7 separate regions of the Homo sapiens genome follow, and all the other regions are linked to region 7. The links are contacts of gene promoters, found by promoter capture Hi-C in human tissues and cell types (Jung and others, 2019). All regions are on one chromosome and are shown on one strand. The core of a region is centred on a gene start or on the middle of the fragment in contact, and the rest is flanking DNA. Distances in the headings are between cores, read along the strand shown. Region 1 holds the start of SNORA74A (small nucleolar RNA, H/ACA box 74A). Region 2 overlaps SIL1 (SIL1 nucleotide exchange factor). Region 3 overlaps MATR3 (matrin 3). Region 4 has its middle 16 kb from the start of SIL1. Region 5 overlaps SIL1 (SIL1 nucleotide exchange factor). Region 6 overlaps SIL1 (SIL1 nucleotide exchange factor). Region 7 holds the start of LRRTM2 (leucine rich repeat transmembrane neuronal 2).

The links. Contacts are between HindIII fragments. The study calls those that stand out against the background at their distance.
Region 1: a contact is called between a fragment that was not itself captured here and the fragment with the promoter of LRRTM2 in region 7, in 1 of the 25 tissues and cell types used here (dorsolateral prefrontal cortex).
Region 2: a contact is called between a fragment that was not itself captured here and the fragment with the promoter of LRRTM2 in region 7, in 2 of the 25 tissues and cell types used here (aorta and heart left ventricle).
Region 3: a fragment that was not itself captured here is called in contact with the fragment with the promoter of LRRTM2 in region 7 in 1 of the 25 tissues and cell types used here (aorta).
Region 4: a fragment that was not itself captured here is called in contact with the fragment with the promoter of LRRTM2 in region 7 in 2 of the 25 tissues and cell types used here (IMR-90 fibroblasts and hippocampus).
Region 5: a contact is called between a fragment that was not itself captured here and the fragment with the promoter of LRRTM2 in region 7, in 1 of the 25 tissues and cell types used here (hippocampus).
Region 6: a fragment that was not itself captured here is called in contact with the fragment with the promoter of LRRTM2 in region 7 in 1 of the 25 tissues and cell types used here (hippocampus).

What each region holds. Positions count from the first base shown.
Region 1 is chr5:139,277,251-139,280,855 of GRCh38, forward strand. SNHG4 (small nucleolar RNA host gene 4) reads left to right here. Exons shown (of 7, transcript NR_182757.1): 4 at 1,077-1,158; 5 at 1,801-1,879; 6 at 2,685-2,808. It overlaps SNORA74A (small nucleolar RNA, H/ACA box 74A), which reads left to right and starts at 1,530; the gene lies at 1,530-1,729. LOC124901081 (a long non-coding RNA gene) reads right to left here. Exons shown (of 4, transcript XR_007058956.1): 3 at 3,318-3,435. It also overlaps a transcript of MATR3 not described here. The HindIII fragment of the contact is 3,306 bases long and covers 1-3,028 here.
Region 2 is chr5:139,158,320-139,161,861 of GRCh38, forward strand. All of the region lies in intron 1 of SIL1 (SIL1 nucleotide exchange factor), which reads right to left. Among named protein-coding and RNA genes, the nearest start is that of SIL1, 38 kb to the right of the region's middle. The HindIII fragment of the contact is 5,569 bases long and covers 1-3,542 here.
Region 3 is chr5:139,305,940-139,309,360 of GRCh38, forward strand. It overlaps MATR3 (matrin 3), which reads left to right. Exons shown (of 15, transcript NM_018834.6): 2 at 1,300-2,388. The coding sequence starts at 1,477. Among named protein-coding and RNA genes, the nearest start is that of MATR3, 14 kb to the left of the region's middle. The HindIII fragment of the contact is 3,519 bases long and covers 1-3,139 here.
Region 4 is chr5:139,213,100-139,216,330 of GRCh38, forward strand. No RefSeq gene overlaps it. Among named protein-coding and RNA genes, the nearest start is that of SIL1, 16 kb to the left of the region's middle. The HindIII fragment of the contact is 3,462 bases long and covers 1-3,113 here.
Region 5 is chr5:139,192,667-139,196,161 of GRCh38, forward strand. The region is part of intron 1 of SIL1 (SIL1 nucleotide exchange factor); the gene reads right to left. Among named protein-coding and RNA genes, the nearest start is that of SIL1, 4.0 kb to the right of the region's middle. The HindIII fragment of the contact is 8,977 bases long and covers 1-3,495 here.
Region 6 is chr5:139,141,567-139,145,049 of GRCh38, forward strand. All of the region lies in intron 1 of SIL1 (SIL1 nucleotide exchange factor), which reads right to left. Among named protein-coding and RNA genes, the nearest start is that of SIL1, 55 kb to the right of the region's middle. The HindIII fragment of the contact is 4,818 bases long and covers 1-3,483 here.
Region 7 is chr5:138,873,517-138,876,804 of GRCh38, forward strand. LRRTM2 (leucine rich repeat transmembrane neuronal 2) reads right to left here and starts at 1,819. Exons shown (of 2, transcript NM_015564.3): 1 at 1,392-1,819; 2 at 1-1,040. The coding sequence starts at 1,395. All of the region lies in intron 7 of CTNNA1 (catenin alpha 1), which reads left to right. The HindIII fragment of the contact is 3,441 bases long and covers 1-2,153 here.

The DNA.
Region 1 (3,605 bases), core at 126-2,625, 400 kb after region 7:
CTCCTGCCTCTCAAAGTGCTGGGGTTACAGGCATGAGCCACTGCACCGTGCCTGGCCTGGAATGCTAATCTTTTGAGAAGAGATGACCCTCGGTTGCTGTGAAAAGTGACATACTAGTTTCCACAGGAGGAAATGGGGAGGATGTTGGGGGGCAGGGGAGTTGTTTATCAAAGCTTGTTTTGTTAGATCAGTTGGCATTCCCTTAATAGGATTCTCTCAACTAAATGTGAGTGCTTTGTGTGAATGCCTCAACTGTGAATAGCCTTTTACATATGGGGTCTTAAGGCTAGTGATATCTGTAGGGCTTGGGGGATGGTTAGCTTTATAGTACTATAGGCAGGGAAAAGGCAAATAATGGTAAATAAAATAATTCCTGAGGCTATAGAAATTGGGGTAAATGGCAAGCAGCATTCTATTTCCATCTCTCCAGATAAGGGTCCTTAGGAGCTGCTATTTTAGACCAGGGTGCCAAACATTCAAATTCATGGGAAATATATCATGTCTGCTCGTCTTTTTTTTTTTTTTTTTTTAATTGACAGTAATTGTATATGTTATATGGGGTACAACATGAGGTTTTCATACATGTTTACATTGTGGAATGAGTAAATCATGCTAGTTAACACATCTAGCACCTCACATACTTATATTTTGTTGTGGTGAAAACATTTAGTATCTTTTAGCAATTTTGAAATATACAGGCCAGGCACGGTGGCTCGCACCTGTATTCCCAGCACTTTGGGAGGCTGAGGTGGGAGGATCATTTGAACCCAGGAGTTTGAGACAAGCCTGGGCAACAGAAAGAGATCTCATCTCTATAAAAAACAAAAAAGAAATTAGGTGGGTGTGTTGGCATGCACCTGTAGTCCCAGCTGCTTGGGAGGCTAAGCTGGGAGGATCACTTGACCCAGGAGATTGAGACTACAGTGAACCATGGTCATGCCACTGCACTCAGTCTAGACAGAGTGAGACCCTATCTCAAAAAATATATATATATATATACACACACACACACAATGCATTGCTATTTATTATATTCTGTGTACTAGATCACTAAGTTTGCTTGTCTTCCTTTTTAGGATGACTTGAAAGTAGGGCATCCTTCACCCATCTGAAGGGAGGAAATAGTGGCAGGTGACAGTCTGCATGTGCAGTTTTCAGGTAAATATCCCTATTCATTCCAACATTGACTACCTCCTCTGTGCCAGGCCTGTGGGCTAGTTGGTATCTATCAGGAAACAAATGGGAGGTAAATTAACCTGTATTTGTAAGATCCATGAAGGAAAGGACAATATATCTTGTTTTATTCACTGCTAGATCCCAATCGCAGTGCTTGGCACATGGCAGGACCTCCCTGAATGTTGCATAAAACAACTGAAAACACAGAAGGGGATTCCTGTTAAAGGGTTTGACAACAGGGTCTGCAATTAGTGCTTCCACGCCTGTTTTGCAGTCAATATTCAACTGATACGTCTTCTACCTGGAGTGCCTAGGTATCTGAAACAAATAATGAGAAAGCTGTTTCAGGAATCATCCAGCGGTTGTCAGCTATCCAGGCTCATGTGGTGCCTGTGATGGTGTTACACTGTTGGAAGAGCAAACACTGTCTTTATTGAGGTTTGGCTCCAAGCACTGTTTTGGTGTTGTAGCTGAGTACCTTTGGGCAGTGTTTTGCACCTCTGAGAGTGGAATGACTCCTGTGGAGTTGATCCTAGTCTGGGTGCAAACAATTTTTTTCTGTTTGCAGAAAAAGACAGGTTGTCTTAGGGACAGCCTGTCATTCTTTACCTCTTTGAATCCTAGATGCCTTCACCTGAATGACATCTACCTCCATCAGGACCCCAGATGTCTGACAGCCCTGTGTGACACCAAGATAAGTAACGTATGTAGTCTTCTTGTCATGTAGGTCCCAATTAAATTACTATAGCTCAGATGGGGGTAGGGGACTTAAAATTATGATGTGAAAAATTATGTAGAGTATCAGACTTTTTTTTGGGGGGGGACGGAGTCTTGCTCAGTTGCCCAGGCTAGAGTACAGTGGCTCGATCTCGGCTCACTGCAACCTCTGCCTCCTGGGTTCAAGCGATTCTCCTGCCTCAGCCTCCCGAGTAGCTGGGACTACAGGCACCTGCCACCATGCCAGGCTAATTTTTTTATTTTAAGTAGAGACGAGGTTTCACCATATTGGCCAGGCTGGTCTGAAACTCCTGACCTTGCGATTTGCCTGCCTTGGCCTCCCAAAATGCTGGGATTACAGGTTTTTTTGTTTGTTTTTTGAGACGGAGTCTCACTGTCTCCCAGGCTGGAGTGCAATGGCGCAATCTCGGCTCACTACAACCTCTACCTCCTGGGTTCAAGCGATTCTCCTGCCTCGGCCTCCTGAGTAGCTGGGATTATAGGCGTGCACTACCACGCCCAGCTAATTTTTGTATTTTTAGTAGAGATGGGGTTTCACCATGTTGGTCAGGCTGGTCTCGAACTCCTGACCTCGTGATCCACCTGCCTTGGCCTCCTAAAGTGATGGGAGTACAGGCATGAGCCACCGCGCCCAGCCAAGTATCAGAATTTTAGAGAATTCTTAGGATCTAAAGTCCATCCCTCACTTTTCTGGAGCTCTGCTGTGCAGTAGGTATATGCTACATGTGGCTGTGTAAGTTGATAAAAATTAATCAATTTCTTAATCTCAGAATCTGGCTGCTGACTACCCTATTGGACAACTCCAATATTAGAGAACATTTCCACCAATTCAGAAAGTTTATTATGCACTGCTGTTCTAGAGCAGGGATCAGCAAACTTGCTGTAAAGAGCCAGGTAATATAATATTATGCTTGTTCAGCCATGTGGTTTTTGCAACTATTTTTGCAGCTCTAGTGCAAACACAGCCTTAGACAATATCAACACATGAGCAAGTCTATAGTTCTAATAGAACATTATTTATGGACACTGAATTAGAATTTCATAAAATTTTCAGTGTCAAAATTGTTTTCAATGATTTACAAATTTAAAGACCATTCTTATTTTGAGAGCCATACAAAAACAGCAGGCTGGAATTGGCCCATAGGCTATGGTTTGCCAACCTCTGTCCTGGAGAATGAAATTCAGGCCTTGAAAGTTGAACAGCTCATTAGTGACAGGTTCAGAGCCAATAGCAATGTGTCTTTCTGAAAAGTTTAATGTTATCAATAGCTTTGCCTTAGAGCATCATACTCTTCATCTTTTAGGGCACTAAGGTGACTGCAAGAAATTAACCAGTAGTAAAAATAGTCTGTTTTTTGTGTGTTTGGGATTTGTTTATGTGTTTTTTTGCATGGGTTACTTACAGCAGTTCTCTCCACTTTTAATGTGCTCCAAAGGGAGAGGTCTTAAGAAAGAATAGCAGTCTGCACTTATCAAACTCAGCCACAATCTCAGTCTGAGTTGGTAAAACCGAAATGGCTCCTAAGGAAAGAGGAAAATTTTATGTCATGAATAGTCACAGTACTTTAAATCTGAGGCCTCAAGTTCTAAGCATACAGGTTGTCTTCCTGACTACAGTAGCGCTATCCATGTGCAGAGACGTTCCTATATTGCTACTTGAAAATAGATAATTCATTGGTATTCCTGTATTC
Region 2 (3,542 bases), core at 1,023-3,522, 290 kb after region 7:
GGGTGAGCCTCTGAAGTGCTCAGAAAGACTCACAAAAATGTTCTTAGAATTCTGTCTAGAAAATTTCTTCCATTCCTGCATCCTCAGAGAGAATCATCTTGAAAATGCAGTTAGTCCCTAAGAATCCTTGTGGGAGGCAAATGAATCTAGAAATGACAGCAAGCTTACCCCTTCCCCAGATGAACCAAACCCCTCGGATTTAGCAGTACCTGAAGGGAGCCCACCCCTGCTCCCTCCACCTGCCTGATCTCAGCAGGCTGTCACCAGCAAGATCCTCATTCATCGCACCATGAGGGAAATAATGGAGAGTCCCCAAGTGTGGGGGAGAAAACCAAAAAGTAATGTAAAAAGATAAGGAGTAAGAAGAGAACAAAGCCTTTCAGTTAATGGCAGATGAGAAAAAAAGGTAAAATAATTTTTTAAAAAAAGAAAAGAACAAAGCTCAAGCTCCTATTTATTATGTATCCGCAGGTTCTAATTTTTTAAGCTTCTTAAGATATTCTGGCTCCAAATTAGCTTTCTTTGCTTAGTCCTAGTTATTGCTTTAGCTCTCTTCAAATGGGCCCCTAAAGATGTTGAAAAAATGTAACTGAAAGGTCAACTGGTTCCATGGGAACTGCAGGGAGACTCTCTGACATCTTGCTCTGAAATGCTATTTTGTAACTTTATAGGATAATACCCTAGAACTAATCATGGTAAAGAATTTCCCATTCCCCCTGGCAACAGGGCTAATGGAGGCTACAGGGGACAAGGGGAAAGAAAGATGGTACTAAAAGAGAGAGAGGGAAAAAAAAAAAGGCCCCATCTCCTCATTTAGCAGCACATGCGCAAAACAGTTTCCCAAATTCTACCCAAATCACTAGGCTAACACTGATGCCATCCAATTCCAAAGCAACATGTCACACATGACACTGTCCTTTCTGATGGAAGAAAGGCCAGCAGGATGTGAGGAGGTAAAGAACTGGGGCAGCAAAGAGGGGATGGAGAAGAAATATAAACCATAAATTAGGGCCGGAAGCCCTGCTGCTTGTCCTGCCAGGAGCTGGCAAGGAAGGACTGAATCAAGTTTCTGAAACGTAAGACCATGAAAGGGGATGTTAAAATAAATTGAGAGAAAACGGAAAAAGATCAGAGGAGAGAAGAGTCTTATTGCACCAGGTTTGCAATTTGTCTGCTTTCTGAGCTGAAGCTCTGAGTACCAGATTTTTTAAGATTTATTTTAAGAGCTTTGAGGCTTCTTGGGGAAAAAAAAAATCACTAATTGTACCTCTTTCAAAGTTTCCAGAATTTTGCTGCAATGGAGGGTATTTGCATGAAGCAGGACAAGTTCCTCTTAGAGAAGTGCCTATTCTTTATAACACAGTTGTGCTTGTGTGTGTGTGCATGTGTAAGAGAAGAGAGACCTTTGGAAGCTGTTTCCCCCACAGCAGTATATTAGTCCATCAGGTGCACAGGTGAAGAATACAGAGGCTGATCCACTCAATTCTTGTGAACACAAAGGTTGGCAACTGATTTTGAAGTTCTTACTCAGGATTTAAGAAAGAAGAGGAAATCAATGCAAGTCAAAATAAAAAGAGATGCAAGTATGTTTACTTTCTAAACAAAACAAAAACCCTCAACCTAAAAAAAAATTTCCTTTTAAAGGCAGCCTCATTAGGCATCACAGAAGTGCAGGCCATTACCATCCCTGAAGGTCAAGAGCATCTCAAGTTTGGGGACCCTGGCTGAGGTACCATTACATGACACAGATTCACAAATGACAGTCACAGTGGGGTGGGAGAGCCTAACTGTGCATTTTACCCATCCCAATCACATTTCCACAATCACACACACACACACACACACACACACACACACACACACACACAAAAGTTATAGCCTGGAGGAGTAGAAGAGATGGAGCCTAACATATTACCTACAACCCTAGCCAGAAGACAGCTGTGAAAACTTCCGAAAGAAAACACTCCTTTGAAGAACTGCAGAAACAACACAGGGGCCAGGAAACAGAGCAAGTGAAAAAAGATTAAAGGAATGAGGATCATCATTTAGCACTGAAAAGGGGCAGTAAAAGAAGTGAGCAGAGCCTTAATAATGATTTTTGAGCCCAAAGTTGGTTGAGAGAGCCACTCTACCAAAAAGCTGTTCTACCAAAAAACTACCTTCTGGTAACTACTAGAACCTTCAAATCCCTGTCTTGCTGGTGTATAGCTGAAATTCTTGCATAAAAAAGGGAGCGAGGCCAGGTGTCGTGGCTCATGCCTATAATCCCAGCAGTTTGGGAGGCCGAGGCAGGCAGACCACCTGAGGTTAGGAGTTGGAGACCAGCCTAACATGGTGAAAACCCGTCTCAAAATGCAAAAATTAGCTGGGTGTGGTGGCACACACCTGTAGTCCCAGCTACTCAGGAGGCTGAGACAGGAGAATTGCTTGAACCTGGGAGGTGGAGGTTGCGGTGAGCCAAGATCATGCCACAGCACTCCAGCCTGGGAAACAGAGCAAGACTCCATCACAAATAAAAAAGGGTGGGGGTAGCAAGAGTTTCACTAAAAGGGGACTTCTACATAAGTTTAAACATAAAGACTATTCCAGAAGGATAGGGGATAGTCAGTAACTAAAGCAAGTTAATAGTAACAAGAATAACAGGCTGGGCGCGGTGGCTCATGCCTGTAATCCCAGCAATTTGGGAGGCTGAGGCGGGTGGATCACCTGAGGTCAGGAGTTTGAGACCAGCCTGACCAACATGGTGAAACCTCGTCTCTACTAAAAACACAAAATTAGCTGGGCATGGTGGCGCATGCCTGTAATTCCAGCTACTCAGGAGGCTGAGGCAGGAGAATCGCTTGAACCTGGGAGGCAGAGGTTGCGATGAACTGAGATCGCGCCATTGCACTCCAGCCTGGGCAACAAGAGTGAAACTCTGACTCAAAAAAAAGAATAACCAAATACCCTCAGTCAGCCACAAGGCCAAATCTTTAAATAAGGGAAATGAAGGAGAAAGCTAACAAGCAGGCTGTCCAATATCCTTCATTTGAGAGCCGTATAGTGAAGAGTAGACAACATCTAAGTCAGGTTAAAGGTAACCATGTGCTTTGAGAAAAGGAAAAGGAGAAGCCAGCTTCAGGTGGGAAAAAGGAGCCCTAGACATGAGTAGAGACCAGTATCTGCAGGGCTACAGTTCTCAACACACAAAGAATTGTTTTTGGGAAAGCTAATGAACATCTGTCGGCTAACCCTGTTCTAGACACTCTCTCTTTCTCATATCCATCCCTGGGATTTTATTATCTTAAGAACCAGGTCTTTGAGCACCAATAACATTTAGGACTCAAACGTTTTCAAAAGTGACCAGAGTCCCACATCTTCCTTACTCCCAGGAGCTTGGAGCACTTCCCTAGAAAAGCAAAGAATTAGAATTGCTGGCCAGGTGCGGTGGCTCATGCCTGTAATCCCACCACTTTGGGAGGCTGAGGTGGGCAGATTGAGTCCAGGAGTTTGAGACCAGACTGGGCAACATGGCAAAACCCCATCTCTACTAAAAACACAAA
Region 3 (3,421 bases), core at 130-2,629, 430 kb after region 7:
TTGATCCTGTAATAGACTTGTAACTACTGGATATTGTCTGGTTTTACTGTTAAAGTTTCACATATTAAGCTACCAGTGCTGAGTGTATTGGTGATCAAAAAATAGAAAATTTAAGCAATGCCTCATAGAATTCTGTACCAAACAACTTCAGATTTACCTCTGTATGTAGTTGTGATTATAAAATTGTTTCACTGAAGATGTTATGTATATCTTTCAACTAATATTTTATGACAATCGTGATATAAAAGATTTGGAAATTCTTATGTGACAGTTTCTGAGGTACAACAATAATGATTTAAGAAAGAAAACAATTTCATCTAGAAACACGTCTTGGGGGATCATAATCAGAACATAAATTTACCAGGTGATTTGGGCTATTCTTGTGAAAAGTTTACAGGAAACTGTGTAACCAAGATCTCATTTTCATTTTTACCTGTTTTGTGCTCTAGATGTGCTGTAGCCCTGAGCATTAAATGAGTACTGATGGATGCTGATTTGGGGAGTTCCCTTCTTTAAATCACCTGTATTTCCTGTACCTAGGTTTTTTCTTGGGAGGGCTCCTATTCCTGTACTGACCAGAGTTAGTTCTCCTTACTTTAAAAGACTAGATATGAAGTAAACACTGCCTGATGTAGGATGGTCAGTAAGAAGGCAATTAGTTGTATAACTTAAATTTGGGCAGCAATCCTTAAAACTATAGGAAATGACTTATTTTTCTTATTCACATCTATCTTCACCTCAAATTGATTTTGCTGTATAAAGGTCTCAGCTATTATGTTTGGTCTTATATCTTACATTAGGTACTTGAAACCTAAGCTTCATTTACTTGTGATTTTACTTGGTTCTTTCTGATAGTGATAATAGGTCTCATTTTCCAAAGCACAGTACAACTGATTCATCTTTGACTTGCTGACCTTGATTTTTTTGTTTTTAGTCTTCTGGAACTTAAGCATCATACTATAGGGTGTATTTTTATTCTTCTAAAAGAAGAAACCCATCTATATTTTTACTGAAATTTTGATGTACTCAGACATCTAACCTTTCAATTTACATGTTTTTAAACTCAGTATGAAAGTCCCTTTAATAGTTAAGCTTTAGCATGAAATACTACTTTTTAAATATCTATATGCAGGCTCTGCATACATCAGGAATCTGTTTAAGATATGTAATAAATTCCTTGTAAGTTTGAGATCTTAAATGTTTTTTTTTTAAATCAACATGATGCATAAGTTTTTTTTTCTTAAAAAAACGGCATCTGCTTAAAGGGATTTATGACTAAAATTGCTTATTTTTCTACAGAGTTGTCTGCTGGTTCTCAGCTTGAAGAAGATTCTGCAGTCCTTATTGATCCTTTTTCTTGGCGTTACCATTTTTGAAGCAAAGTTAACCTAGCTTTCTAGTTTGAGCTTTCTTTTTGGCCGTCTTTAAAAAAATTTTTTTTTTTAATCTATAAAATAGACAAGAGCTAGTTCTACAATGTCCAAGTCATTCCAGCAGTCATCTCTCAGTAGGGACTCACAGGGTCATGGGCGTGACCTGTCTGCGGCAGGAATAGGCCTTCTTGCTGCTGCTACCCAGTCTTTAAGTATGCCAGCATCTCTTGGAAGGATGAACCAGGGTACTGCACGCCTTGCTAGTTTAATGAATCTTGGAATGAGTTCTTCATTGAATCAACAAGGAGCTCATAGTGCACTGTCTTCTGCTAGTACTTCTTCCCATAATTTGCAGTCTATATTTAACATTGGAAGTAGAGGTCCACTCCCTTTATCTTCTCAACACCGTGGAGATGCAGACCAGGCCAGTAACATTTTGGCCAGCTTTGGTCTGTCTGCTAGAGACTTAGATGAACTGAGTCGTTATCCAGAGGACAAGATTACTCCTGAGAATTTGCCCCAAATCCTTCTACAGCTTAAAAGGAGGAGAACTGAAGAAGGCCCTACCTTGAGTTATGGTAGAGATGGCAGATCTGCTACACGGGAGCCACCATACAGAGTACCTAGGGATGATTGGGAAGAAAAAAGGCACTTTAGAAGAGATAGTTTTGATGATCGTGGTCCTAGTCTCAACCCAGTGCTTGATTATGACCATGGAAGTCGTTCTCAAGAATCTGGTTATTATGACAGAATGGATTATGAAGATGACAGATTAAGAGATGGAGAAAGGTGTAGGGATGATTCTTTTTTTGGTGAGACCTCGCATAACTATCATAAATTTGACAGTGAGTATGAGAGAATGGGACGTGGTCCTGGCCCCTTACAAGAGAGATCTCTCTTTGAGAAAAAGAGAGGCGCTCCTCCAAGTAGCAATATTGAAGACTTCCATGGACTCTTACCGAAGGGTTATCCCCATCTGTGCTCTATATGTGATTTGCCAGTTCATTCTAATAAGGTGAGTTAACTCAACAGATGCTTCTAATTTCTTTTACATTGTAGTGCCTATTTACCTATATCTTTGACTCTAATTCTGTAGTCTGATGACATTGAGTTGATCAAGCATTTTTAAACTTTTGAGAACACTTACTTTATTTGGAAGGTAATTGTTTTTGAGCATTTTAAACCAGGGCTTTACATTAATATATTCTGCCTAGATTACTTCTGGCCACAAAGCTATCATCCACTGAGATTATCTTGTTGGTTTTTGGCATCAATATGTTCTTCTTAATCATATATTTAAGCAGGTTTTTTTTGTCTGCTTTGTTGAATTGTTTTAAGTATTTTTTTTGCAGTCAATGTGCTCTGCCATTCAGGATGCTAGATTTCAGCTCTCCATCTGTCTTGATTGCTGATTTGTATGTAGTAAAGATGTATTCTTGAACAATTCTCTTTTTTTCCTTATCTGTGGCTACAGGGAAAGAGTTAATGTAGAGCCCTGGTGTTTGTTTCAGTATGTTTCATATTTTAGATTAGTTCATTCTTCCTTTTTTAATTTCCCTTTAACACAAACTCTCATACTATGACTGAAATTTTTCATCATTTTTTTTCTCCTTTTCCACAACTTTCTTAAACATACTTCAAAACTCACTTTTTATTATCCCATGTTACATCTGTCCCTTTAGAGACTTGGACAAATCAACTACTACAGTATCCTGCTCTGTGTTCCTCATAAACAAATTCTTTTTCTGAGTTAGGCTTAGACTTCTGAAATAGTCATTTGAAAAGAAAATCTAATTCTCCTTTGCTTTAATTATCACATCTGGCAAAATGGGAACTTTTTCAAAATGCCCTTTTAAATATGTTGTCCTTTCTCTTTCAACTTTTTCAGTGTTACTCATTCTGACTTTTTTTCCCCCAATATATGGTGCAGTTGACTTAAAGTCATTGTTATAGCACCCCACTAGCTTGATCTATAATCTGTGACCGTCCATTTTTTCCTGATGTGCTCTACTTAACTGGAACAAGTTGCTGCCATGAAATTGATTTGA
Region 4 (3,231 bases), core at 133-2,632, 340 kb after region 7:
ACAACACAAGTTTGAATTGCAAGGATCCACTTATATGCAGATTTTTTTTACCAAATGCAAATTGAAAATACAGTATTCGCAGGATGTGAAACCTGAGTATATGGAGGGCTGACTTTTTGTATACTCAGGCTCTGCAGAGCCAACTGCAGGACTTGAGTTTGCATGGATTTTGGTGTACTTGGGCGTCTGGAACTAATCCTTTGCATACACTGAGTGTTGATCATACAAGGTTACCTAGAAGTGGAATTGCTGGATTGTACGGTAACTCTGTGTATGTCCCCATTCTTGAACCAATCACTGTGGCCTAAGAATAGAATGGTATGAATGATTTAAACCTAAGTCACAGGTTCTTTTTTGTTTGTTTGTTTGTTTGTTTTTTTGAGCCGGAGTCTCGCTCTGTCGCCCAGGCTGGAGTGCAGTGGCGCGATCTCTGCTCACTGCAAGCTCCGCCTCCCGGGTTCACGCCATTCTCCTGCTTCAGCCTCCCGAGTAGCTGGGACTACAGGCGCCCGCCACCGCGCCCGGCTAATTTTTTGTATTTTTAGTAGAGACGGGGTTTCATCGTGTTAGCCAGAATGGTCTCCATCTCCTGACCTCGTGATCCACCCGCCTCGGCCTCCCAACGTGCTGGAATTACAGGCGTGAGCCACCGCGCCCGGCCTTGTTTGTTTGTTTTTTAAAGACAGGGTCTCACTTTGTTGCTCAGGCTGGAGTGCAGTGGCACAATCTTGGCTCACTGCAACCTCTTCCTCCCAGGTTCAAGTGATTCTCATGCCTCAGCCACCTGAGTAGCTAGGATTACAGGCATGTACCACCACACCCAGCTAATTTTTGTATATTTAGTAGAGACAGGGTTTTGCCATGTTGGCCAGGCTAGTCTCAAACTTCTGGCCTCAAGTGATCCACCTGGCCCAGCTTCCCAAAGTGCTAGAATTACAGGTGTGAGCTACTGCACCCAGCTTACGCCACATGTTCTACTCCTGATGCTGAGGATGGAGTCAGTTTCATTAGGACCACATGGAATGAAAAGAAAATGATGGTTCACCAGGAAGAAATGGGGTACAGTTATCAGATGGAGGATGAATGGAATCTAGGCAGCAAATCTACAGATGGTCATTGCAAATTGCCATATTAATTGAATGCTCACTATGAGCCCGGCACTGTGTTAAGTACATGCATTATCTCATGTGACCTTTACGACAGCCTCATAAGGATTCTATTATTCTATTACTCCCCTACAGATGCAGAAACTGAGCTCAGAAAAGTTGAATAAGTTGTCCAAGTTTATATAGCTGAAAATTGAGTGTTTGAACCCAGGTCTGATGCAAAGTGTCAGAGAAAAACAGATCTTGAGTTAGGCTAAAATATACCTGCTAAAGCGTCTTTTGCATCATTTGCCCAATATTTTTATAATCATTGGGGAAGAGTCTGTGTAACCACAAATTTCCTTTCACACCAAGGACAAGGAAGAACAGGTTTTTATCAAGAAAAAAATCATAGTTGACATTTTTTCCCTTTAGATTTCCAAGTAAGCTTCCCAATTTTGTCAGATATCACATTATTGGCATTGAGATTAAGCAGCTATATTTCTCAGAAAGTCTCCATGCTTTTTGTCACCACTCATCTTTTTCTAACAGGCCTAGAAATTCAGCTAAATTCTGCTTGTCATGTGATTAGGAAGTGCAGAACTCCACACCATGCTCATAACCTCCTCCAGAAATGATTTACAAGAGCTCTTCTGTAGTCCTCATGATGAGGGCCTGGGGCTAGGGATCTCTGACTCCCTACTCTCTACTCCTGTGGACCAGAACCCCAATGATGTGAGATGGATGGGACAGAAGATGTGAGGCAACCAAAGAGTTGAAGAATATAAGAAGTTGCATTTCATTGCCACCACCCGCCACCAATTCCGAAATGTCAGTCCTTAGAGCATCACAGGAGAATAACCTCATATTAAACTGTATACTGTATTAAGCTTCATACTAAGCTGCAAGCGTTAGCACCACACCGACTCCTCCTTGAGAGACCCCATCCCACTACCCCTCCTCCCTAGTACACACACATCACCATCAAAGCAACTTGCATCCCAAACCCTTGAAAGATTTACTGCCAGTACTGCAGACAAATCAGTGAATACCCGGCAGTCGATTCCAAAGACAGGATGCTCATTTGCATGAGGAGTTGCATGTCATTTGCATTATATTTGCAATCCATTTGCATATCACGTCTGCCCTGTCAAAATGTACATAAATGCTTTATACTTTCACTTTTTTTATTTTCTAAAGAGGACTACGCCCCCGCATCCTGCCCAGACTGTCTGGGAAAATTACTGGTTGAGTATTCCCAGCTTAATTGTGAAGAGCCTCACGTGCCATACTGAGGCGATTTCAAACTGTGGAAGAGCCCCAAGGATGTCAGAACCTAGCTTGAGAAACTTCATTCATTCATTTATTCAACATGTCTTTATTGAACACTTACGATGTGCACTGTTGTTCTAGGTGCTGCAGATATATCTGTAAATAATGAGATGAAAATAGTTGCAGCATTAAAAGTTAAATGCTGTCATTTCAGAAAATCACTTGGCACCAACCCAATCAATACATAATACAAGTGCAAAAAAAAAAAGGCACTAAAATTTCCTGAAAGTGCTTGGTTATAAGGTCATCCGGTGTTACAGACTATGCTTATGTCGTTATTACTATTTTGTTAAGATTAATCCTGGCCGGGCATGGTGACTCAGCCTGTAATCCCAGCGCTTTGGGAGGCCAAGGTGGGAAGATTACTTGGGCTCAGAAGTTCGAGACCAGCCTAGGCAACATGGCAAAACCACGTCTCTACAAAAAATACAAAAATTAGCCAGGTGTGGCTGTGCCTGTAGTCCCAGCTACTCTGGAGACTGAGGCAGGAGGATCACTTGAGCAGGGGAGGTCAAGGCTGCAGTGAGCCATGATCCTGCTACTGCATTCCTGCCTAGGCAACAGGGCAAGACCCTGTCTCAAAAAAAAAAACAAAACAAAAGATTAATCCTGAAATTAAAACAAATAGTAAGCTCCTTATTTTTTTCTTTTCTTTTCTTTTTAAAATAGAAACAGGGCCTCACTATGTTGCCCAGGCTGGTGTCAAACTCCTGGGCTCAAGTGATCCTCCCACCTCGGCCTCCCAAAGTGTTGGGATTACAGGCGTGAGCCATTGTGTCCAGCCAGTAAACTTCTTAAAGTTTACTCAAGACAC
Region 5 (3,495 bases), core at 841-3,340, 320 kb after region 7:
TCAAAATCCAAAGACTGGAAGAAAATTAAAACAATAAAGAATAAACTTGGCTGGGTGTGGTGGTTCACACTTAATAATCCCAGTACTTTGGGAGACCGAGGCAGGAGAAATGCTTGAGCCCAGAAGTTCAAGACCAGCCTGAGCAACACAGTGAGACTGTCTCTACCAAAAAAAAAAAAAATTAGCCAGATGTGGTGGCACATGCCTGTAGTACCAGCTACTCAGGAGGCTGAGGCAGGAGAATCACTTGAACCCAGGAGGCAGAGGTTGCAGTGAGCCAAGATCACGCCATTGCACTCCAGCCTGGGCAACAAGAGCGAAACTCAGTCTCAAAAAAAAAAAAAAAAAAAAAAAAAAAACAGGAAAGGAAACGAAAAAGCTTGTGGTACTAGCTGTTTCTTCTGGATAAAAAACTGGCCTTGATGACTACATTAAAGAAAGAATATCAGATAAGACCATGCATTCTCAGTGAGTGCAGTAACAGCCCAGAAGGGGTGAAAATTGATTCTTGGGGGAAAAAAAGTTAGATATTACAATGGTTTGTGGCCATCCAAAGGGCCACAATACAAAAACAGATACACAGTACATCTGTGGTATTAAAATTCCATTGGGGGTAGCTGGGCACGATGGCTCATGCCTGTAATCCCAGCACTTTGGGAGACTGAGGTGGGCAGATCACTTAAGGCCAGGAGTTCAAGACCAGCCTGGCCAACATGGCAAAACACAAAAACTACTACTAAATAACACAAAAATTAGTTGGGCATGGTGGTGGGCGCCTATAATCCCAGTTACTCAGGAGGCTGAAGCACAAGAATCACTTGAACCCAGGAGGCAGAGGCCACAGTGAGCAGAGATCACACCACTGCACTCCAGCCTGGGCGACAGAGTGAGACTCCCTCTCAAAAAAACATTCCACTGGGGAGTAGACAATTAAGGGAAAAAAAGTCTCAAAATATGATAATGAACAAAAGGTTGAAAAATAATTAGATGAACCCAAAGGGTTGAGTCTTAGATGAACCCTAAGGGCACAGTGTTCATTAACTTGTATAATGGTCATGGGTAGGGTAACTAACTTGTCCTGGTTTGCCCCGGACTTTCCTGCTTTTGGCACTAAAAGTCCCACATACGGATATCCCTCTGTCCTGGGAAAACTGGCATGGTGGTCCACTCTTCTCAAGAGAGAGATCAATGAAGGCATTCCCATTTCACAAATGAGGTGACACCAAGAAACACAGTGGTTGTCACGGATTCACAGCACTTTAGCAGCATTCCTGAGGCAAGGCTGGCTCTTTCCATTTGTCTAGTCCTATGCTCACAACTCTCTGCCCCTGATTTCCACTTTGGCAGAGAATGTTACTCATGAATTGATTATGCCACTTCCTTCTCAATACCAAAGCCAAGGGCAGTATTAGGAGGATGAAGGCAAACATGGCCAGCCAGCATAATCACAGCCATGTCTTACAGCTGCCTGGTGGAACCTGAAGGAACTACAAGTCTGGGCTGAATATAGTTTTGTTGCTACTGGATTCTGGGTACAAATTTGCAAAAGTAAGAATGCCAGGTGTAAACTCCTCACAAGCTAGGAAAATTCCTAGCTTGAGGTTCTCCACATGTGTCTGAGCAGCCCGAATCTTTTACAAGGTTTTTGTCCCAAAGATGAACTCAGTTATTGCTTATGCTAGGAATCAGGGGTTACCCAAGGCCTCACTCTGAATGGCAACAGGCTATTCTCCTACTCCCCTACTCAGCAGTGAAATCCTTGGTGAAAGTAAAGGAAGAAAAGAAAAGGGCATGCTATTCCGTCTTTAGTCTACGTATAATTAAAATACAAGACTCTCTGCTGTAGAAGACTAAGGTTTGCAGTTTAAGGCCGACTCAGAAAAGGATAAAGTATTCATCCTTGCTCAGAAAGAGAGAAGATTAGCTCCACAGGATGGGTCTCCAAATTGACACCAAATCCAGGAGTTAGAGATGGCTGTGCTACAGAGCGTGATCCAAGCACCATCTGGAGCCCCCAGAAAAAAATCCCTAGGAATAGCGACTAAGGGACTAGCATTGTAAGAGAGTTCAGATTAGCTCTCCTGAAAAGAGGCTTACTACAAGAGACTGGCAGACAGCCTCTGCAGCAAAACTTCACTTAGGAAAGGACAGAAAATGAATGAAGAAAGACAGGGGGAGGCTGAGCAGGTCAGAGTATGAATCCACAAGTATGTGAAAAAGAGAATCCACCTATTTCGAAAAAGGTACAACTTCCTTTCAGAGCCTTTTTTTTTTTTTTTGAGACAGAATCTCTCGCTCTATCACCCAGGCTGGAGTGCAATGGCACAATGATCTCGGCTCATTGCAACCTCCGCCTCCCGAGTTCAAGTGATTCTCCTGCCTCAGCCTCCCGAGTAGCTGGGATTACAGGCATGCGCCACCACGCCCGGCTAATTTTGCATTTTTAGTAGAGACGGGGTTTCTCCATGTTGGTCAGGCTGGTCTTGAACTCCCGACCTCAGGTGATCCACCCACCTCAGCCTCCCAAAGTGCTGGGATTACAGGTGTGAGCCACCGCACCCGGCCAGAGACTCTCATGTTCTTTTGAATATTCTCATTAACGGCAAATCTTCATTCTTTGAGGGTGAAAACATTTATTGCATTCCTATGTCCCAAGAGCTTTCATGTGTAATACGTCATTTAACCACCCTTCAAAGTAAATATTATTCCCAGTTTTTTTTGTTTTGTTTTGTTTTGTTTTGAGACGGAGTCTCGCTCTGTCGCCCAGGCTGGAGTGAATGGCGTGATCTCCGCTCACTGCAAGCTCCGCTTCCCAGGTTCACGCCATTCTCCTGCCTCAGCCTCCTGAGTAGCTGGGACTACAGGCACCCACCACCTCGCCCGGGTAATTTTTTGTATTTTTAGTAGAGACGGGGTTTCACCGTGTTAGCCAGGATGGTCTCGATCTCCTGACCTCGTGATCCGCCCACCTTGGCCTCCCAAAGTGCTGGGATTACAGGCGTGAGCCACCATGCCCGGCCCTATTCCCACTGTTATGTAGTGGTACATTGAGCCCCAGAGGTGAAGTAACTTATCCAAGGTTATGTGGCTAATAAGTGGTAGACTCAGAATTAAAACTCATGTTCACCACCCTCCAAAAATCTGTTATTTCCACTTCAAAAGAACTGTTAACTCATCTGAAGACAAGGCAGGTGACAAGGTTGCTTACCCATGCCATTCGGGGTTAAATATATATAGGCTGTGTGCAGTGGCTCACGCCTGTAATCTCAACATTTTAGGAGGCCAAGACAGAAGAATCGCTTGAGGCCAGGAATTCAAAAACAGCCTGGGCAACACAGCGAGACCCTGTCTCTACAAAAATTAAAATTACAAAATTAGCTGGGCCTGGTGGTGCGCCCCTGTAGTCCCAACTACTCAGGAGGCTTTAGTGAGAGTATTACTTAAGCCCAGGAGTTCAAGGTTGCAGTGAGCTATGATTATGCCACTGCACTCCGG
Region 6 (3,483 bases), core at 630-3,129, 270 kb after region 7:
GGATGGCTTGAGCCCAGGAGTTCAGGGCTGCAGTGAGCTATGATCACACCACTGCACTCCAGGTTGGGCAATAGCGAGACCCCTATCTTTAAAAGCAGATGCATAAAAAATTGTTGAGTGGAAGTGAAAGCAGCAGAACCTAATGGCATACATATGTAAATTACTACTTTGGAAAGAAGTGTGTGTGGCCACCTCTATGATCACATGTGAACTTAGAATTATGGAAAACTGTGCTCAATGGAATCTTTCACCCTGAAATGTTAAATATCTGAGAAAACACTTTAAAATACATTATTTTCAGCACAGAACCTACTCCCTTATCAGCTGACTTGTTCTGATCTCCTGAATGGCTCAGAGGCCTTGTTCTTGTTCAGCAAACCCAAGATCAGACCATACACTCATCAGCCAAAGGAAACAGAGAACACATGGAAAAAGCCGCAGTCTTAAAGTCCAACTTAGCAACTTGACCCTGTAAGGGCAGTTTCCAGGCTGCATAATCAGAATGGCTGGCTGCCCAGACAGGCGGCCAAGATGGAAGTGTCAAAACAAAAAAGTATGGAAAAGTTCACCTGGCCCAACTTCAAAGCCAAAGCTCCAAAAAGGTAGGAGTTTAACAGGCACTTACTGGCCAGCAAGGTGCCTGTTAAGAAGGGTAGCAGTACACTAATCCTTCTCAAACTCTTCACAAAAACCAAAGAGAAGGGAAACACTTCCTAATTCATTCTATGAAGTCAGCATTACCCTGAAACCAAAGCAAGACAAAGACACTATAAGAAGACTCCAGACCAATATCTCTTATAATATACATGCAAAAAATCCTGAACAAAATACTAGCAAGCCAAAATTCAGCAGCATATTAAGAGAATTATACAACATGATCAAGTGGTGTTTTATCCCAGGAATACAAGAGTGGCTCAACATATGAAATGCAATCAATGTAATACACCACATTAATAGAATGAAGGAAAAAAACCACATGATCATTTCAATGGATACTGAAAAAGCAACTGACAAAATCCAATATCCTTTCATAATAAAAAATACCCAATAAACCCGGAATAGAAAAGAACATCCTCAACATAATAAAAGGCATATATGAAAAACCCACAGCTAGCATCATATTTAATGGTGAAAGACTGAAAGCTTTTCCCCAAAGACCAAGAACACGACAAAGATACCCACTTTCACCACCTCTTTTACTTATTTATTTATTTTTTTTTGAGATAGAGTCTCGCTCTGTTGCCCAGGCTGGAGTGCAGTGGCGCGATCTCGGTTCACTGCAAGCTCTGCCTTCCGGGTTCACGCCATTCTCCTGCATCAGCCTCCTGAGTAGCTGGGACTACAGGTGCCCGCCACCACGCCTGGCTAATTTTTTTTGTATTTTTAGTAGACAGGGTTTCACTGTGTTAGCCAGGATGGTCTCAATCTCCTGACCTCGTGATCCGCCCACCTTGGCCTTCCAAAGTGCTGGGATTACAAGCGTGAGCCACCGCGCCCGGCCACCCACTTTCACCACTTCTATTCAACATAATACTATAAGTTCTAGCCAGAGCAATTAGGCAAGAAAAGAATAAAAGGCATCCATATTGGAAAGGAAGATGTAAAACTATTCTATGTGCAGATGATATATACATATATATGTGTATATACACATATAAATGTATATACATATATGTATATATACATATATAAACACATATATACACACATATGTATATACACATGTGTATATACATATATACACACACACACACACACACACACACACACACACACACATATATATATATATATATATATGGTTTTTTGTTTTGTTTTGTTAAGATGGAGTTTCGCTCTTGTTGCCCAGGTTAGAGTAGCGGGGCGTAATCTAGGCTCACTGCAACCTCTGCCTCCTGGGTTCAAGCGATTCTCATGCCTCAGCCTCCCAAGTAGCTGGGATTACAGGCATGTACCACCACACATGGCTAAGTTTTTGTATTTTTAGTAGAGATGGGGTTTCACCTTGTTGGCCAGGCTGGTCTCGAACTCCTGACCTCAGGCAATCCGCCCACCTTAGCCTCCCAAAGCTCTGGGATTACGGGCATAAGCCACCACGCCCAGCCAATGATATGATCTTATGCATAGAAAACCTTCACAAATAAAACCTGTTAGAGCTAATAAATTCAGTAAAGTTGCAGGACATAAAACCAACACACAAAAATCAGTTGTATTTCTATATCCCAGAGATGAACGATCCAAAAAGGAAACTAAGAAAGCAATTCCATTTAAAACAGTATCAAAAAGAACACTTAGGAATAAATTTTGCCAATGAAGCAAAAGACTTTACACTGAAAACTACAAAACGCTGCTGAAGAAATAAAAGAAGATCTCCATTTCAATTTTTCTGTACAACACATAAATAAATAAAAAGTCATTTTAGGTTCATGATTCAAAGATATGATATTGCTAAAATGATAGTATTACCCAAAGCAATACGCAGATGCAACGCAATCCCTTTCAAAATTCCAGTGGATTTTTTGCAGAAATGGAAAAACCCATCCTAAAATTCACATGGAGTTTCAAGGGACCCTGAATATCCAAAACAATCTTGAAGCAGGAGAACAAAACTGCTGGGCACAGTGATTCATGCCTGTAATCCCAGCTACTTGGGAGGCTGAGGCAGGAGGATTGCTTGAGGCTAGGAACTCAAGGCTGCAGTGGGCTATGACAGTGCCATTGCACTTTAGTCTGAGTGACAGAGCAAGATCCCATCTCTTAAAAAAACAAAAACAAAAAACAGCAAAGTTGAGGGGAAAAAAAGAACAAAGCTGGAGAATTCCACAAGTCCAATTTCAAAACTTACCATAAGGCTAGAGTAATCAAAAGTGTGGTAATGATGTAAGGATAAACATATAGACCAATGGAATAGAATTGTGAGACCAGAATTAAACCCTCACATCTCTATAGTCAACTGATTTTTACAAAAGTGTTATTGAGTAAAAAGGGATTTTTAAAGGACGAAATTTAAAAGGCTAAAACTGGCAGGGTGCGGTGGCTCACACCTGTAATCCCAGCACTTTGGGAGGCTGAGGCAGGCAGATCACCTGATGTCAGGAGTTCGAAACCAGCCTGGCCAACATGGCAAAACCCCGTCTCTACTAAAAATACAAAAATTAGCCGGGCGTGGTGGCGGGCACCTTTAGTCCCAGCTACTCGGGAGGCTGAAGCACAAGAATCACTTGAACCCGGGAGGTGGAGGTTGCAGTGAGCTGAGACTGAGCCACTGCACTCCAGCATGGGCAACAAAGCAAGCCTCCCATCTAAAAAAAAAAAGTTAAAACTATACAGTTCTTAGAAGAAAACATGGGCAAAACCTTCATGACCTTGGATTCGGCAATGATTTCTTAAATATTACACTAAAATCACAGGTGGTAAAAGAAAAATAAATTGAACTTCATTAAAATATTTTTAAAATTTTTGTGCAAAGGACGCGATCAAGAG
Region 7 (3,288 bases), core at 569-3,068:
CTCTCCTTGGGTGTGGTCAGGACTGTGGCATAGGATGGAGTGTTCCCACCGACCTTGGAAACTGCCCAGCCAGGAGGCCAGAGCACATATTCGGGCGCTGCATTCCCACAGATTGCCAGAGAGACCAACGGTTGTGAGGGATCTCAGGGAGTTTAAGATCTTGGAATCAAGGCTGTTTAACTTGTTGTTATCCATGAGGAGTATTTTAAGATTGGGCATCGTTTCAAACACTGTCAAGTCGATGGCTTTGATTTCATTTCCAGTCAGGTCTAGCTTTTCTAAAGTGCCCCAGGTCCACTCCATCCCACATGTCAAGTTGCTGATTTTGTTCCATTGTAAGAAGAGCGTGTGCAGACTGCTTAGCCGTAGGAAATGAGCAAAATTAATCTTCGTCAGCTGGTTGTGCTCTAGGTGAAGCTCTCTCAGTTTAATTAATCCTGCAAATCCATTGCGAGCCAAACTTCGCAAACGATTTGTGCTCAAATCCAGAAACTCCAGACTACGACAGTCCCAGAACAGGCGTACTGGGATAGTCCGCAGGGAGTTGGAACGTAAATGCAAGGTCTGCAGCTTCCGAAGGCCATAGAAGAGCTCTGGGTGCAGAGATGACAGCTGATTAAAAGACAGGTCCAAATTTTGCAGGTTAATCAGTTGGGTAAAAGTTGTGTTTGGCAAGTAAAATATTTTGTTGGAACTTAAGATTAATTCCTTAAGTTTATATAGTCCTTGAAAAGCATCTTCTTTTACTGTTGAAATTTGATTGTGATCTAAGTGGAGCCAAGTAAGTTGACTGAAGCTGGCAAATTGATCTCTTTCGAGCTCTGTGATGTGATTGTGCCTCAGGGACAGGCCCAGAGAGCCCTTGTCTGTGGCGTTTGGCACTGAGTGGAAGCCCTGAGAGTCGCAGTAGAAGAGCAGCTTCTCGCAGCGGCATTTGGGTGGACACGCCATACCCAGGGCAGGCAGCATTTTTAAAACCATACTCATTGCATATATTGCTGCCAGCATAGGGGCCCCTAATGGCCACTTGAAATGTAAGCCTGCAGAATATAATTTAAGGAAAACAAGAAGATAGGATATTTTTCAGCAGAACATATGGGCTATTTAAAAAAAACAACCACCACCAACATTATAGCAAAAGATTTCACTGCATATAACTTATTTTTCATTTACTGCAGAAAAATTAACCTTATTGGTATGACTGGACCAAAACTTAAGCCATTTAAAAAGAAGATAAAACATGTCTCTGTCATCATCGATATATGCTTTTACCTAAACCTCAAAATCCAAAATATGATGGTGATTTCCCTCATAAAATGTGAATTCGGTAGCTTATTTTAAAAGCGTGATTCCTTGTTGAATGTACAAGACATATAAATGCACAGACTTACCCATTCTTCTGAGCACATTGGAGGCTGCATTCAGTCGCGGTTGTTAGACTCAACGCAGTGAGTCTGTAAAAGGCTCTAACATGTAGGAGCCTTTGACCAGTTTCCTGTTTTCTGTGTCCCAGGCTTTCCAAGTAAAATTGAATCCACCAGGACGAGTTGTTTTTTCCTTAGGATATCCCTCTGGAAAGCATTGGTTTCATTTTCTGTGATTGCTCTGATCCCTAAATCAGTTTTGAATATAAGTTATTAAATTTCTCCACCTCTAACTGCTCAGCTGGTTAATCAAAGCTTCAGTCTCCTTTCCGCAGCCGTTAGTTCTCTTGGTCTTAACTTGTTGATGGCAGATGGGTGGCTTGTTGCAGAGAAGAGCTCCTGGAGCAGCATGAGTGCATTTACTGAAAAGCTTTTCCGAGAAACGGCACAAGAATGGATTTGCTTATGTGCTGCGACCACACAGAACTGTATATAGGCTGACGTCACCGGATGACGTGTCTTTTGTTTGGGTTTTCCAGAAGCTTTACTGTTATAAAGCACCATGCTTTGTAACAGCATCGGGGTCGTTGCAGGACCCCCTGATTACAATAAAGCGAGAAAGAAGAACTCCTGACTTAAAAACATGATATTCCTTCAGTGTAGGAAGCAGCAGTGAGGTTGTAATAAAGGCTGCATTCAAGAAGACCCATCTGAACAGTGAGTTGGGTTAGCAGAGTGATGATTTTTAATGCTTGTGAGAGCCAGTGTTAGACTGCCGATTCTGCATAGAGAGATCATCTAAATGGGCAGAAGCCTGCACAATTTATGAAGTGCTGATTTAACACCAGCCTATGCAAGGTAGTGTCGCTGCACTGGTAGTTTGGAAAGCTATTCAGTTGCCTTGTTGTCATGCTTGGTTAAAATCAAAGTATGACTATGATTTGCTTTAGATGTGTTGATAAACTAGCTAAGTGGGCTTGGCTTGTTTGTCATCAAGAGCTTAACATTATAAACGAAGAATAAAGGGGGAGGGGAAGCTTGCAAAACAAAGCATGTGGTTATTTTTTTCTTTGAGAATTTCAGGGGAACTCTAAAAAGATTTCTCTTTCTCCTATTTTATAACAATGTTTTGTCGCCATACTGATTGAAAAAATAATGCTGAGTTGATCTTTAAATGTCCTCCTGGGAGGACAAGGCAGGTTGATACAGTCATTTTAATGCACATGCCCTAACAGCAAAGCAGAGATGATTTAGGACAAGTGATACCGTGTAGCTGGATTCTGACATGGCCCCTTGTATTTTACCTCAGAATCTCACCTACTCCATAACTAAAAGCCTCCGCTGGTACTGAGGTTGGTGGTTGTGACACTGAAATAATAGAGCATTTGCACCCTAGTTCCCAGCCACCAAGTGGCTGACTTAACTGAGCCTACTGCTGTTGTTAGAACCTGTCTTGTGAATACAAAAGGTCACTCATGCTTTGGACTGGGATTTTTGTTTTGACTTGATTTTGCTTGCCCTAACTCCAGTTTCTCCCTGTTGAATGGTGTCTTCACTTTTCAGACCTCAGTTGTGGATGTATAGCTCCATGTTTAGTGTTATATAAATGCAAAAGATGTTTCTAGATGTTATATTTTCAGGCCTGACAAAGGTAAGCCCTTTTCTACATCTTGCCTTATTGATTTGACCCAACATACCTATTTCTCCCATATCATTGGCACTTACCCTTTGTGGGTCTTGTCTCAGACCTAAGGACAGACATCTTTAAAACTACTGATGGTGTCTGTGAAACAAGAACATCGTTGGCCTTTTTGGTTCTGAGGGATTCATCCCACTGGGCAGATCTAAGAAGTAATTGTCTTGGGTAAAATTTTTCTGTTGTAGTGTTGTGCTGGAGTGAGAGCTGTGAGACTCCAAGGTCCCT